3 separate regions of the Homo sapiens genome follow, and regions 2 and 3 are each linked to region 1. Evidence: promoter capture Hi-C in 16 types of primary human blood cells and fetal thymus (Javierre and others, 2016). All regions are on one chromosome and are shown on one strand. The core of a region is centred on a gene start or on the middle of the fragment in contact, and the rest is flanking DNA. Distances in the headings are between cores, read along the strand shown. Region 1 holds the start of ZNF562 (zinc finger protein 562). Region 2 overlaps ZNF317 (zinc finger protein 317). Region 3 overlaps ZNF558 (zinc finger protein 558).

Region 1 (4,116 bases), core at 1,614-4,113:
TCTTGCTGTGTTGCCCAGGCTTGTCTCCAACTCCTGGCCTCAAACGATCCTCCCATATTGGCCTCTCAAAGTGTGCTGAGATTACAGGCATGAGGCAACGTGCCCAGCCAGAAATACATACTTGGTGAAGAAAAAAAAAATCAAGATTTATAGAAAGTATTATTATATTGAAAATGTGGCTGTGCGTGGTTGCTCATGCCTATTGTAGGGAAAAGAAAGAGATCAGACTGTTACTTTGTCTATGTAGAAAAGGAAGACATAAGAAACTCCATTTTGATCTGTACCCTAAACAATTGTTTTGCCTTGAGACGCTGTTAATCTGTAACTTTAGCCCCAACCTTGTGCTCACAAAACGTGTTGTATGGAATCAAGGTTTAAGGGATCTAGGGCTGTGCAGGATGTGCCTTCTTAACAATATGTTTACAGGCAGTATGCTGGATGAAAGTCATCACCATTCTCCATTCTCAATTAACCAGGGGCACGATGCACTGCAGAAAGCAGCAGGGACCTCTGCCCAGGAAAGCTGGGTATTGTCCAAAGTTTCTCCCCACTGAGACAGCCTGAGATATGGCCTCATGGGATGGGAAAGACCTGACCGTCCCCCAGCCTGACACCCATGAAGGGTCTGTGCTGAGGAGCATTAGTAAAAGAGGAAGGCCTCTGTCTCCTGAATGCCCCTGGGAACGGAATGTCTTGGTATAAATCCCGAATGTACATTGTTCTCTTCTGAGACAGGAGAACACTGCCCTGTGGCTGGAGGTGAGACATGCTGGTGGCAATGCTGCTCTGCTATTCTTTACTACACTGAGATGTTTGGGTGGAGAGAAGCATAAATCTGGCCTACGTGCACATCCAGGCATAGTACCTTCCCTTGAACTTATCTGTGACACAGATTCTTTGCTCATATGTTTTCTTGCTGACCTTCTCCCCACTATCACCCTGTTCTCCTGCTGCATTCCCCTTGCTGAGATAGTGAAAATAGTAATCAATAAATACTGAAGGAACTCAGAGACTGGTGCCAGTGTGGGTCCTCTGGACGCTGAGCGCCGGTCCCCTGGGCCCACTGTTCTTTCTCTATACTTTGTCTCTGTGTCTTATTTCTTTTCTCAGTCTCTCATCCCACCTGATGAGAAATACCCACAGGTGTGGAGGGGCTGGCCCCCTTCACCTATAATCCCAGCATTCTGCAAGGCTGAGATGGGCAAATCACGAGGTCAGGAGTTTGAGACCAGCCTGGCCAACATGGTGAAATGCCCTCTGTACTGAAAATAGAAAAAATAGCTGGGCATAGTGGCAGCCACCTGTAATCCCAGCTACTCAGGAGGCTGAAGCAGGAGAATCACTTGCACCCAGGAGACGGAGGTTGCAGTGAGCTGAGATTGCACCACTGCACTCCAGCCCGGGCAACAGAGTGAGACTCCAGTCTCAAAAAAAAAAAAAAAAAAAAAAAAAAGTAAAAAGAAAACGCAATGGAAACAGCAGGTTCTATAAAATAAAGAATGAAAAAATAGGCTGGGCGCGGTGGCTCACGCCTGTAATCCCAGCACTTTGGGAGGCCGAGGCGGGTGGATCATGAGGTCAGGAGATGGGGATCATCTTGGCTAACACCGTGAAACCCCGTCTCTACTAAGAATACAAAAAAATTAGCTGGTTGTGGTCGCGGGCGCCTGTAGTCCCAGCTACTTAGGAGGCTAGGCAGGAGAATGGTGTGAACCCAGGAGGCGGAGCTTGCAGTGAGCCGAGATTGCACCACTGCACTCCAGCCTGGGGGACAGAGAGAGACTCCGTCTCAAAAAAAAAAAAAAAAGAAAAAGAAAAAGAAAAAATAAAGGCCTACAGAAAGAATGACTGAATGGAAGAGACAGACCATGCCATCTATCACTGGCAGGTTTAATATGGAAGAATCATGGAAAGGCTCCAGGAACATGAGGAGCGGCATACAAAAAAGCTTGACACACACACACACACACACACACACACACACACACACACATATATATATATTTTTTCTTTTTGAGATGAAGTCACGCTCTTGTCCCCCAGATTGGAGTGCAGTGGCGCAACCTCGGCTCACCGCAACCTCCGCCTCCCGGGTTCAAGCGATTCTCCTGCCTCAGCCTCCTGAGTAGCTGGGATTACAAGCGCCTGCCACCACACCCAGCTATTTTTTTGTATTTTTAGTAGAGACGGGGTTTCAGCATGTTGGCCAGGCTGGTGTCAAACTCCCGACCTCAGGTGATCCGCCCGCCTTGGCTTCCCAAAGTGCAGGGATTACAGGCGTGAACCACTGGCGCTTGGCCTTATATATATATTTTAATAGAGACAGGGTCGAGCCGGGCACAGGCCTGGGCAACAAGAGTGAAACTCTGTCTCAAAAAAAAAAAAAAAAAAAAAAAGAAAAGAAAAAAAAAGACACACGGTCTTGCTATTTCACTCAGGCTGGTCTGGAACTCTTGGACTCAAGCTATCCACCTGCCTTAGCCTCCCAAAGTGCTGGAATTACAGGCGTGAGCCACTGAGCCCGCCCAGGATAAGCTTTGGAGGAGCATCCTCTGGGGTGCGTCCCATCCCCCATCCCCGCCTTTCCAACCCGTCTGGGCACCTGAAACGCGGGCTAGGCCGGGTCCCACCTCTAAACCGCCCCCAAATATGGGCCCCACCCCTCGCCCACGGTTCCGTCCAGAGGTCCGGTTCTAAACTCATCTTTTTCTCTGAACCCGTTTCTGCATCCCGCTCCCTGAGCCAACCCCAGGCACTGTCCGGCACCCACCCAGGAGGAAACTAGAATTTCTTTGTCCTACGTGCCTGAAACTCAAGCCCTGGAGCCCCACCCGGCCGGAGGCTCGGAGCGGAAGTGACGTCAGTGTGCCACCGCCATCTTTACCGGCTGTGGCTCAGCATGGTCAGTGCCGTTTAACCTTTATTGTGGTGGAGTCCACCCCGCTGTGGTGAGTTCTACCTGCTTGGGGGTCCGGGACATACCAGCGGGGCGGCAAAGGAAGGATTGGGCGTGGTCGCCCAGGAGCCTCTCAGATCCGCCTAGTTTCACTCGCTTTTCTAGGGGCTGTCAGTCCTCCTGGTGCGGCCTCTGGCCAGTTCCGAGAGGCCGCACAGTCCGTCTGGCTGCGTCGGGAAGTGTGTTTGTTCCGCCTCCGCCGGGTGTTTTCTTGAGTACTTTCATCCGCTGTGCTCCTCTCTTGAAAAGCTTGGAAAGCAACCTTTGGGAGTTTTTTTCTTTCCGAAAGGAAAAGGATTTCTGCCCTTCTGGTGAGGTTGGCTCTGGCCCCGCATTCTCCCGCGTCTGGAACCTATCTCTTCCGGCATGTTCCTGGTGAGCAACGGCGGAAAAATGGTTTCAAGAGGGCTGTGACTTCCATTTATTTGCTAAAAAATGTCTCATCTGAGAATCTGGCGTTGTCTTGATGTCCTTTACTTTTTTTTTTTTTTTGATTTGGAGTCTTACTCTGTCGCCCACGCTGGAGTGCAGTGGCACGATGTTGGCTCACTGCAACTTTCACCTCCCGGGTTCAAGTGATTGTTAGATATGAGTTTTAAATTTCTTTTTAAAAAATCAATATGTCAGTATGTTTAATTCTTTGCCTTCTACTTTTAAACTTCTCCGTAAAGCAACCTTTTTCGATCACCTGCTCCACCCTGACTCATTCTGATTACCTGCTCCACCCAGACTTATTTCGATTACTTACTCCACCCTGACTCATTTTCCACCCTGACTCATTCCAATTTCCTGCTCTGTTATAACCATTTTCCCCAACAAACCACTCACCCTGTCACTCTCTTTAAATTAGCCAATTGGAATTAGTTTAGCCTGTGGGGTCTAACCCTAGCCATCGGGGAAGGACAAAGCGGCAGGGGCCACTTTCCTCAAGAATAAGAACCCCTTCCCCTCCCTTGTCCTGGTGTGTGCTCACCATTGCTCCATCTGTGAGGGCACACCCTTCTGTAGAAGTAAATTGCCTTGCTGAGAAAAGAAAATGTTATATTTGAGTGCTTTTTTTTTGTGGCATGAAAACTTTATAACATGATTCACCTGCCTCAGCCTCCCGAGTAGCTGGGATTCCAGGCGTGCACCACCACACCTGGCTAATTTTTTATATT
Region 2 (4,277 bases), core at 726-3,225, 520 kb after region 1:
CTCCTCTACAACTGTCTCCTGGTTCTTTCCCTGCTTCTCTGGATCATCTGGACCATCCAGAGGTCCTCTTTCACCACTAAAGGCTGATTCTGCTCAAGAGCCATTCTTTACCCATTCCTTCGCATGCCTCATGCTTTGCCCAGGTAATCACATCCACTCATTTAACCTGAATCCCCATCTCTAACACTTAGGTTCCAGTAGGAACTCGAGATCTTATTCCCTTTGCCTAGGAAAAGCCACCAGTAAGACATCTCATACAAAAACCAGTTCCAGCCAGGTGCAGTGGCTCCCACCTGTAATCCCAGCACTTTGGGAGACCAAGGTGGGTGGATCACCTGAGGTCGAGAGTTCGAGACCAGCCTGACCAACATGGAGAAACCCCGTCTCTACTAAAAATACAAAGAATTAGCTGGGCATGGTGGTGCATGCCTGTAATCCCAGCTACTCGGGAGGCTGAGGCAGGAGAATCGCTTGAACCCGGGAGGCGGAGGTTGAGGTAAGCTGAGATCGTGCCATCACACTCTAGCCTGGGTGAGAGAGCGAGACTCAGTCTCAAACAAACAAACAAACAAACAAACAAACAAAAACAACTACCTTGACACACTAAACCTAGGGAAAGCAAAAGTGAAGAAATAAAGATTAAAGCAGAGACAAATGAAATAGAGAATAGGAGAATTAATGAAAACAAAAGTTGGTTCTTTCAAAAAGATCAACAAAGGTGACAAAACTACAGCTAGAATTACTAACAAAAAAAGATGCAAGTAACTAAAATCATCAGTGGAAGTGGGACATTACTACCGACCTTACGGAAATTCAAAGGGCTGTAAGAGAATGCCATGAACAATTATGCACCAACACATTAGATCATCTACACTAGCAGTCCCCACCCAATTTGGCATCAGAGACTGGTGTCATGGAAGACAATTTTTCCATGGATGGTGAGGTGAGGGGGGATGGTTTTGGGATGACTTGAGTGCATTACATTTATTGTGCACTTTATTTCTATTATTATTACATTGTAATATATGGTAAAATAATTATACAACTCACCATAATATAGAATTAGTGGAAGCCCTGAGAGTGTTTTCCTGAAACTAGATGGTCCCATCTGGAGGTGATGGGAGACACTGACAGATCATCAGGCATTAGATTTTCATAAGGAGTGTGCAATCTAGATCCCTTGCATGTGCAGTGCACAATAGGGTCTGCGCCCCTATGAGAATCTAATGCTGCTGATGATCTGACAGGAGGTGGAGTTCAGGGGTAATGTGAGTGATGGGGAGCCGCTGTAAATACAGATGAAGCTTCACTCACTTGCCCTCCGCTCACCTCCTGCGGCAGGGCCTTGTTCCTAAAAGGCCAGGGACCGGTACCTGTCTGTGGCCCAGGGCTTGGGGATCAATGCTCTAGATGTATCAAATTCCTTGAAACATACCCAAACAGGCTCTAGAAGAAAAAGAAAATTGAGAGACCTATAACAAGAGACTGAGGCAGTCATCAAAAGCCATTAAATAAAAAGTCCAGGACCAGCTGGGCACGGTGGCTCACGCCTGTAATCCCAGCATTTTGGGAGGCCGAGGCGGGTGGATCAGGAGGTCAGGAGATCGAGACCATCCTGGCTAACACGGTAAAACCCCATCTCTACTAAAAATACAAAAAATTAGCCAGGCGTGGTGATGAGTGCCTGTAGTCCCAGCTACTCGGGAGGCTGAGGCAGGAGAATGGTGTGAACCTGGGAGGCGGAGCTTGCAGTGAGCCGAGATTGCGCCACTGCACTCCAGCCTGGGCGACAGAGCAAGACTCCGTCTCAAAAAAAAAAAAAAAAAGTCCAGGACCAAGGGGCTTCACTGGTGAACCCTACCAAACATTTAGAATTAACATCAAGGACATTATCAAGAAAGTGAATGAGACACAGAATGGTGGAAAATATTTGCAAATCATGTATGTGATAGGGATTTAATATCATTATAAACTCAACAACAAAGACAACCCAGTAAAAAAGTGGGCAGGAGACTTGAACAGAACAGACATTTCTCCAAATTTACAGAAATGAACTGTAAACACATGAAAAGATGATTAACAACATCAGTCATTAAGGAAATAACATCAAAACCACAATACATTGGTGAGGTATGGTGGCCCACACCTCGGGAGGGGATTTAATTTGCTTTGTATGAACATGCCTCCTCTCTCTGGCTTCCACCGCGACTCTCATGACAGCACTGATGTAAGAACCGTGACGCTGCTACTTTAACATCTGACTCAGATCAATAATCAATATTACCACTTTTAAACATTACCAGGGTTATAACAATCTTTTTCAACATCAATTAGTATTTCTGCTATTGGAATTGTTTTAGATATTCAGAAACATTTCAAAACAATAATATAGGAAGTGTGTTTTAACGTATAAACTCTGCCTTGGGGATTCATTATTCAACACCAAATTTGATCTTGGGCCAACTCAAAGATGCATGACGCTTTCATTCTTTTTACAAAGCCCTTTTCTAGTCATTGTGCCTTTGGGTTCTGACATTAAGTCACTGCTGAGGAAGGGGAGAGAGGGTGACAGAGGCTCAGTTCCTGAGGCACAGTATCTCCATCCTCACCTACCATTCATTCATTCATGCTCAACTAACAAGCTTCTGCAGGTCCCATTCCACCTTTCCCCACCAACATTAATGCCAATTCTACAAATAACGACATGTGTAGTGTTTACAAGGTATGAGACATTCTCCTGAGTCTTTCCAGGGCCACTCCTATTTAATCCTCACAACCTCCCGGAATTATTCTCAAGTACCCAGAGAATAAGGCACCAAGGGTCCGAGACACTTGGTCAAGGTCATAGGTGGAAGTTGTGAGCCCAGCTGACGTGACTGCGGAGCCACATCTTGTTGCCTCTCAAAGTGACCTATGTCACCTGTACTGTCCCCTATGTGGGAACTCCTTGACACTACATCTTGACCCTTCCTTTGCCTGACCTCCTGACACATCATCTTGCTCACTATGAATCTATCTCCCTCTTCCTGGGAATGCCACTGCTCTTGCAGCCATAGCCCACTCATCCCAGTCTGTGCTCACATCTCTGGTTGCTCTTTTGAAGACTCTGGCTTGAGATCCCTCCTCTGCCCAGCCCCTAAAGGTCAGGGTTCCCCTGGGCCCCTCTCCCCCATCTCCCACAGGTCCACATTGTGAAACACCCCCACCATTTGGAGGTGCTGACACCCAGGTTCTGATTGCACTTCTGTGAAGGTCTCCCTGTCCCTGAGGCCTCAGTAGACTCCCCTTTAATGCAAGCCCACAGTTCTGCTCATTCCCCTCCCAAGAGTCAGTTCATCAAAACTCAGTTTTCTCATCTGGAAACTGAAGACTTTAACACTGGGTTATGTATGGAACTCTATAGGCTCAGTAAACAAACATTCACTCTAAAATGCCATTATCATTAAAATAAAATGACCACTGACGATTTCACAATTACTTAACAGAATTGTTCATTTATAGTGGGTGCCACTCTCCGCTCCCTGGCACCTGCCCCACCCAGAATGACTCAGAGTGAGTGGCAGCCAGGTGGCTACTTAGTATCCCTACTGCAACAGCCAACAGGATCCCACATTAAACACCTACAACTGTGCTGCCACCAGCCTCCCCACGTTGATGGCAGCTCCAGCCTCCCAGGGGCTCAAGTCAAAAGCCTTGCTCGTCATCACCTTCAACTCTCCTCTTTCTTTTCCATAAACCACACCTGCATCACCAGCAAATCCTGCCAGCCTTAACTTTAAAACTTAATACAAAAATCTGGTTGCTTCTCACCACCTACACTGCTACTGCCTTGGCATAAGGCATCGCTTCTCTTCTAGAACATTCCAACTGCTTCCTAACTGGTCTCCCAGCTGCTGTCCCTGACTTCCCTTAGCTTCCATGACAGCCGTAACTTTATGGGTAAAATGAAGATCACACCGCTCCTCTGTTCAAGATCCTCTGATGGTGTCCCATCTCACTCAGACCAAGGGCCCAGGTCCCTGCCGCCTCACCCACAACTCGCTCTGCCACTGGTCCCTCACCCAAGCCACAGAAGCCTCACTGCTGTGCATCAGGCCCCGCCAGCCATGCTCCCACCTCAGGGTCTGTGCACCTGCTGCTCCTCTGCTTGAAATGTTTCCCCCACATTCTCAGTGTGCCTGGCCCCCTCTCATCCTTCAGATCTTTATTCAACTTTACCTGTCCTGATCTGGCATTCACTGGCCACTCTTTTCTTTTCTTTTGAGATGGAGTCTCGC
Region 3 (4,045 bases), core at 579-3,078, 850 kb after region 1:
AAGCAAATCTCCTGCCTCAGTTTCCTGAGTAGCTGGGACTACAGGCAAGTGCCACCACGCCCAGCTAATTTTGTTTGTATTTTTAGTAGAGACAGGTTTTTGCCATGTTGGCCAGGCTGGTCTTTAACTCCTGACCTCAAGTGGTCCGCCCACCTCAGCCTCCCAAAGTGCTGGGATTACAGGCAAGAGCCACCGCACCCAGCTGTTGATTTGATTTCTAAAGGCATATTGGCCCTCCACCAAACTTCAAAATATAAGGGCATTTGTAAAAAGGATGATTTATTAGTAACAAATTTAAAATTAAATTGACCGGCGACCAGATGTGTTTTGAGTAATGGGATTTTTTTTTTCCTAATGAGATTTGAAAACATTTGGAAGAATATTAAGCAACAACTTATAGATTGAAGGGTAGGGAACTGGTTTCCAAAAAGATTGTCCTCTGCACCTTGCCTCCTGTATTAGTCCTTTTTCACACTGCTATAAAGAACTACCTGAGAGTTTTCACACTGCTATAAATAACTCCCTGAGACTGAGTGACTTACAAAGGAAAGAAGTTTAATTGACTCAGTTCTGCATGGCGGGGGAGGCCTCAGGAAACTTACGATCATGGCAGAAAGCAAAGGGAAAGCAAGGCACGTCTTACATGGCAGCAGGAGAGAGAGAGAAGACATAAACGCCAAACTTCTAAACCATCAGATCTTGTGGGAACTTACTATCAGGAGAACAGCAAGGGGGAAGTCCGCCCCCATGATTCAGTCACCTCCTACCAGGACCCTCCTCTGACACATAGGGATTATTACAACTCGAGATGAGATTTGGGTGGGGGGACACAGAGCCAACGATATCACCTCCTAATAGGAATTAACTTTGTTTCTTAAAACTTCTCTGAAATAACAGTATGGTGATTCATATTGCAGAGAATCATGTTAAGTAATCTAGTATTAAATTGTGGGGTTTCTACTAATTGTGTGTGTGTTCACCTTTTCCATTCTAGCTTTCCTACAGCATTCTTGAAGGAATGTTTACTTATCATGCAATAGATATTATTTGAGTGCACAGTTAATGGTGACCAACCATCCTCATTTTTTCAGGACCAAGGGGTTTGCTAGGGCACAGGGCATCCAGTGTTCAAACCGGGACAATCCTTGGCAAACCAGGTCGCCTCCATGAGTCAGGTCCTAGGTCAGATGCACAGGGACCCTGGAGGACCTGAAATGGCCCCTGTCCTACATAAAGTTTACCTTCTAACAGGGAAGATAAATTTTAAACCATGAATGACAGGAGTGATGTGGGAGCTTGGCACTAGTGAACTTGATCAGAGGGAACAGGGAAGCTTTCTTGGGAAGGATATTTAGCTTGAGAGCTTAAGTTGTTACAGAACCAAACTGGGGTCTGCTCACCTGGTGGTGCAGTGAAACCAGATGTCTATATTGAGGGTTGCTACGATAGATAGAAAGGCTTTTATTGCACAGCACTAAGCAAGGAGGACCAGACATTAAATGTTCAAATCCTGGCCTCCCCAGTGGCTTTTAGGCAAGGAATTTTTTTTTTTTTGAGATGGAGTCTCACTCTGTTACCCAGGCTGGAGTACTGTGTTGCAATCTCAGCTCACTGCAACCCCCGGCCTCCCGGGTTCAAGCAGTTCTGCCGCAGCCTCCTGAGTAGCTGGGATTACAGGCGCCTACCACCATGCCCGGTTAATTTTTGTATTTTCAGTAGAGACGGGGTTTCACCATGTTGGCCCGGCTGGTCTTAATCTCCTGACTTCGTGATCCACCCGCCTCAGCCTCCCAAAGTGCTGAGATGATACAGGCATGAGCCACCACACCCGGCCTTTTTTTTTTTTTTAATGAGACAGAATCTCACTTGGTCACCCAGGCTGGAGTGCAATGGCACGATCTCAGCTCACTGCAACGTCTGCCTCCCAGGTTCAAGTGATTTTCCTGCCTCAGCCTCCCCAGTCCCTAGGATTACAGGCACATACCACCACACCTGGCAAATTTTTTGTATTTTGAGTAGAGACAGAGTTTCACCATGTTAGCCAGGTTGGCCTCAAACTCCTGACCTCAGGTGATCCGCCTGCCTAGGCCTCCCAAAGTGCTGGGATTACAGACATGAGCCACCGTGCCCGGCTAGGCAAGGATTTCTGAAGGCAATGGTAAGTTACAGAAAAGCAGAAGCTACAGGCAAAATCATAAAGCAATACATGGAGGTTACACACTGGTTTAGACTTAAAAGGGCAAGGATGTCTTGAAGCAGGAGCTTGTCATAGGTAGATTCAAAGATTTTTCTGATTTGTAATTGGTTAAAGAAAAGAAGCTTTGTTTAAAAATTTAGAGTCAGTAGGAAAATGTTAACTGGCTGGGAGAAGTGACTTTCTCCAAGCCCCTCAAGAAGAAACTTAGCACAAAGAACGCTGAAGCTCAGCCTTCATGTCCCGCTTATCTGGGGTCTCTGAGCCAGCAGCTCCATTTGGTGGGGTCCTCAGTGGGAGTCCCAGCCTCTGAAAGGCAACTCAGGGACGCATGTTAAGATGTTATCTTTAGTTTCCATGGGGAAAGCGAACATCTCTGGAGCCTTAACTTCTTTGGCTGTTGTTTTAGGTTACTATTACCTTCCTGTTTAACAAGTTCCATATTTACTTTTGGGGCTAGCTGGATGCTCGGAATTTCCCTTAAAGGAACTTCAGGATTTTCCTTTATTTTCCCACTTGGGGTTCACAGGCCCCTGAAAAAGGGAATTGCTGCTCCATCTCCAAGTTGGGGTCAGATGTAGCTAGTCATAGGGCTCGACTAGAGTGAGGGGACAGGGTTATGTCCAAGAGAGCACTGCCGTCGAAGAAGCTGTGTAAGGAAAGGCCCTGCAGCAGGAGAGAGGCTGCCACGCTCCCTGCACTGGGAACACAGGGATGGCTGAAGCCGAGACAAGAACAGGGAAAGAAGCTGGGCGCAGTGGCTCACACCTGTAATCCCAGCACTTTAGGAGACCAAGGTGGGCTGATCACCTGATGTCAGAAGTTCAAGACCAGCCTGGCCAACATGGTGAAACCCCGTCTCTACTAAAAATACGAAAATTAGCTGGGTGTGGTGGTGCACACCTGTAGTCCCAGCTGCTCGGGAGGCTGAGACAAGAGAATTGCTTGAACCTGGGAGGCTGAGGTTGCAGTGAGCAGAGATTGCACCACTGCATTCAGCCTGGGTGTAAGAGTGAGACTCCTCAAAAAAAAAAAAAAAAAAAAAAAAGAATAGGGAAAGAAGTGTGACCAAGACCAAGATCAAGAGGGAGGCAGAACCATACTAGGCCTCACTTCAGACTCTGTTCTCAGGCCAGTGGGAAGACACTAAAGAGTTGTGGGCCAGAGGGTGATGCAATTTGCATGTAGTGTAAGCATGCAGATAACAAGGACTTCAGGATTCAGAAGGAAGACATTTAAGAGGCAAAAGAGGGGGTGTTTGGAGGTAGTTTAGGAATCAGATGATTGCTCCCAAAAAAAATAAAATTTATTTTCTCAGCCATACTAGTCACATTTCAAGTATTAGAGCAGAATTATAGAACATTTCCATCATCACCAGAAGTTGTGTTGGGCAGCTGACATAGAGTGGCCCATCTGCTGTGACCATCCTCCAGCACTGTATCCAGGGCAGGGCAGGTGTCACAGGATCTGTAAACTGAAGAGACCCCTCCTGTCCTAGTGGGAAATTTCTGCTTCCAGACAGCCTTGAATAGGGACTTGGGGCCTGAAAATGTCCCAGGTACCTTCTCTACTTGTTTTTTTCTTGGAGGCCCAGTGAGCTGGCTGGAGGCCAACCCCCCCTCACTCCCCAGCTCAGTGACTGGAACTACTGTGTGCCTACCTGCACATTAGGTCTGTTACGGGGAAAAAGGAGATACTTCCCCCTGTAGAGGGTAGGGAAGTTCTGCAGCAGTTGCCTGGGTCTGCTGAACTCACCCAAAGGGAAGGTGTGATGTGAAAGGCATGTTAGTTTCCTATTGATGCTATAACAAACTACCACAAATTCAGGGACTTAAAACAACACACATTTAT

Evidence for each region. The method cuts DNA at HindIII sites, captures the fragments that hold promoters and counts their contacts. A CHiCAGO score of 5 or more calls a contact.
Region 2: a fragment that was not itself captured here is called in contact with the fragment with the promoter of ZNF562 in region 1 in 6 of 17 cell types (fetal thymus, megakaryocytes, naive CD4 T cells and 3 more); the score reaches 6.5 in fetal thymus.
Region 3: a fragment that was not itself captured here is called in contact with the fragment with the promoter of ZNF562 in region 1 in 4 of 17 cell types (M1 macrophages, M0 macrophages, naive CD4 T cells and 1 more); the score reaches 7.6 in M1 macrophages.

What each region holds. Positions count from the first base shown.
Region 1 is chr19:9,673,847-9,677,962 of GRCh38, reverse strand. ZNF562 (zinc finger protein 562) reads left to right here and starts at 2,863. Exons shown (of 6, transcript NM_001130031.2): 1 at 2,863-2,948. RefSeq lists enhancers at 1,657-2,656, 2,919-2,978, 2,657-3,156, 2,695-3,894. The HindIII fragment of the contact is 670 bases long and covers 2,538-3,207 here.
Region 2 is chr19:9,149,457-9,153,733 of GRCh38, reverse strand. The region is part of intron 1 of ZNF317 (zinc finger protein 317); the gene reads right to left. Among named protein-coding and RNA genes, the nearest start is that of ZNF317, 11 kb to the right of the region's middle. The HindIII fragment of the contact is 1,338 bases long and covers 1,307-2,644 here.
Region 3 is chr19:8,826,769-8,830,813 of GRCh38, reverse strand. All of the region lies in intron 2 of ZNF558 (zinc finger protein 558), which reads left to right. Among named protein-coding and RNA genes, the nearest start is that of ZNF558, 3.5 kb to the left of the region's middle. The HindIII fragment of the contact is 986 bases long and covers 1,336-2,321 here.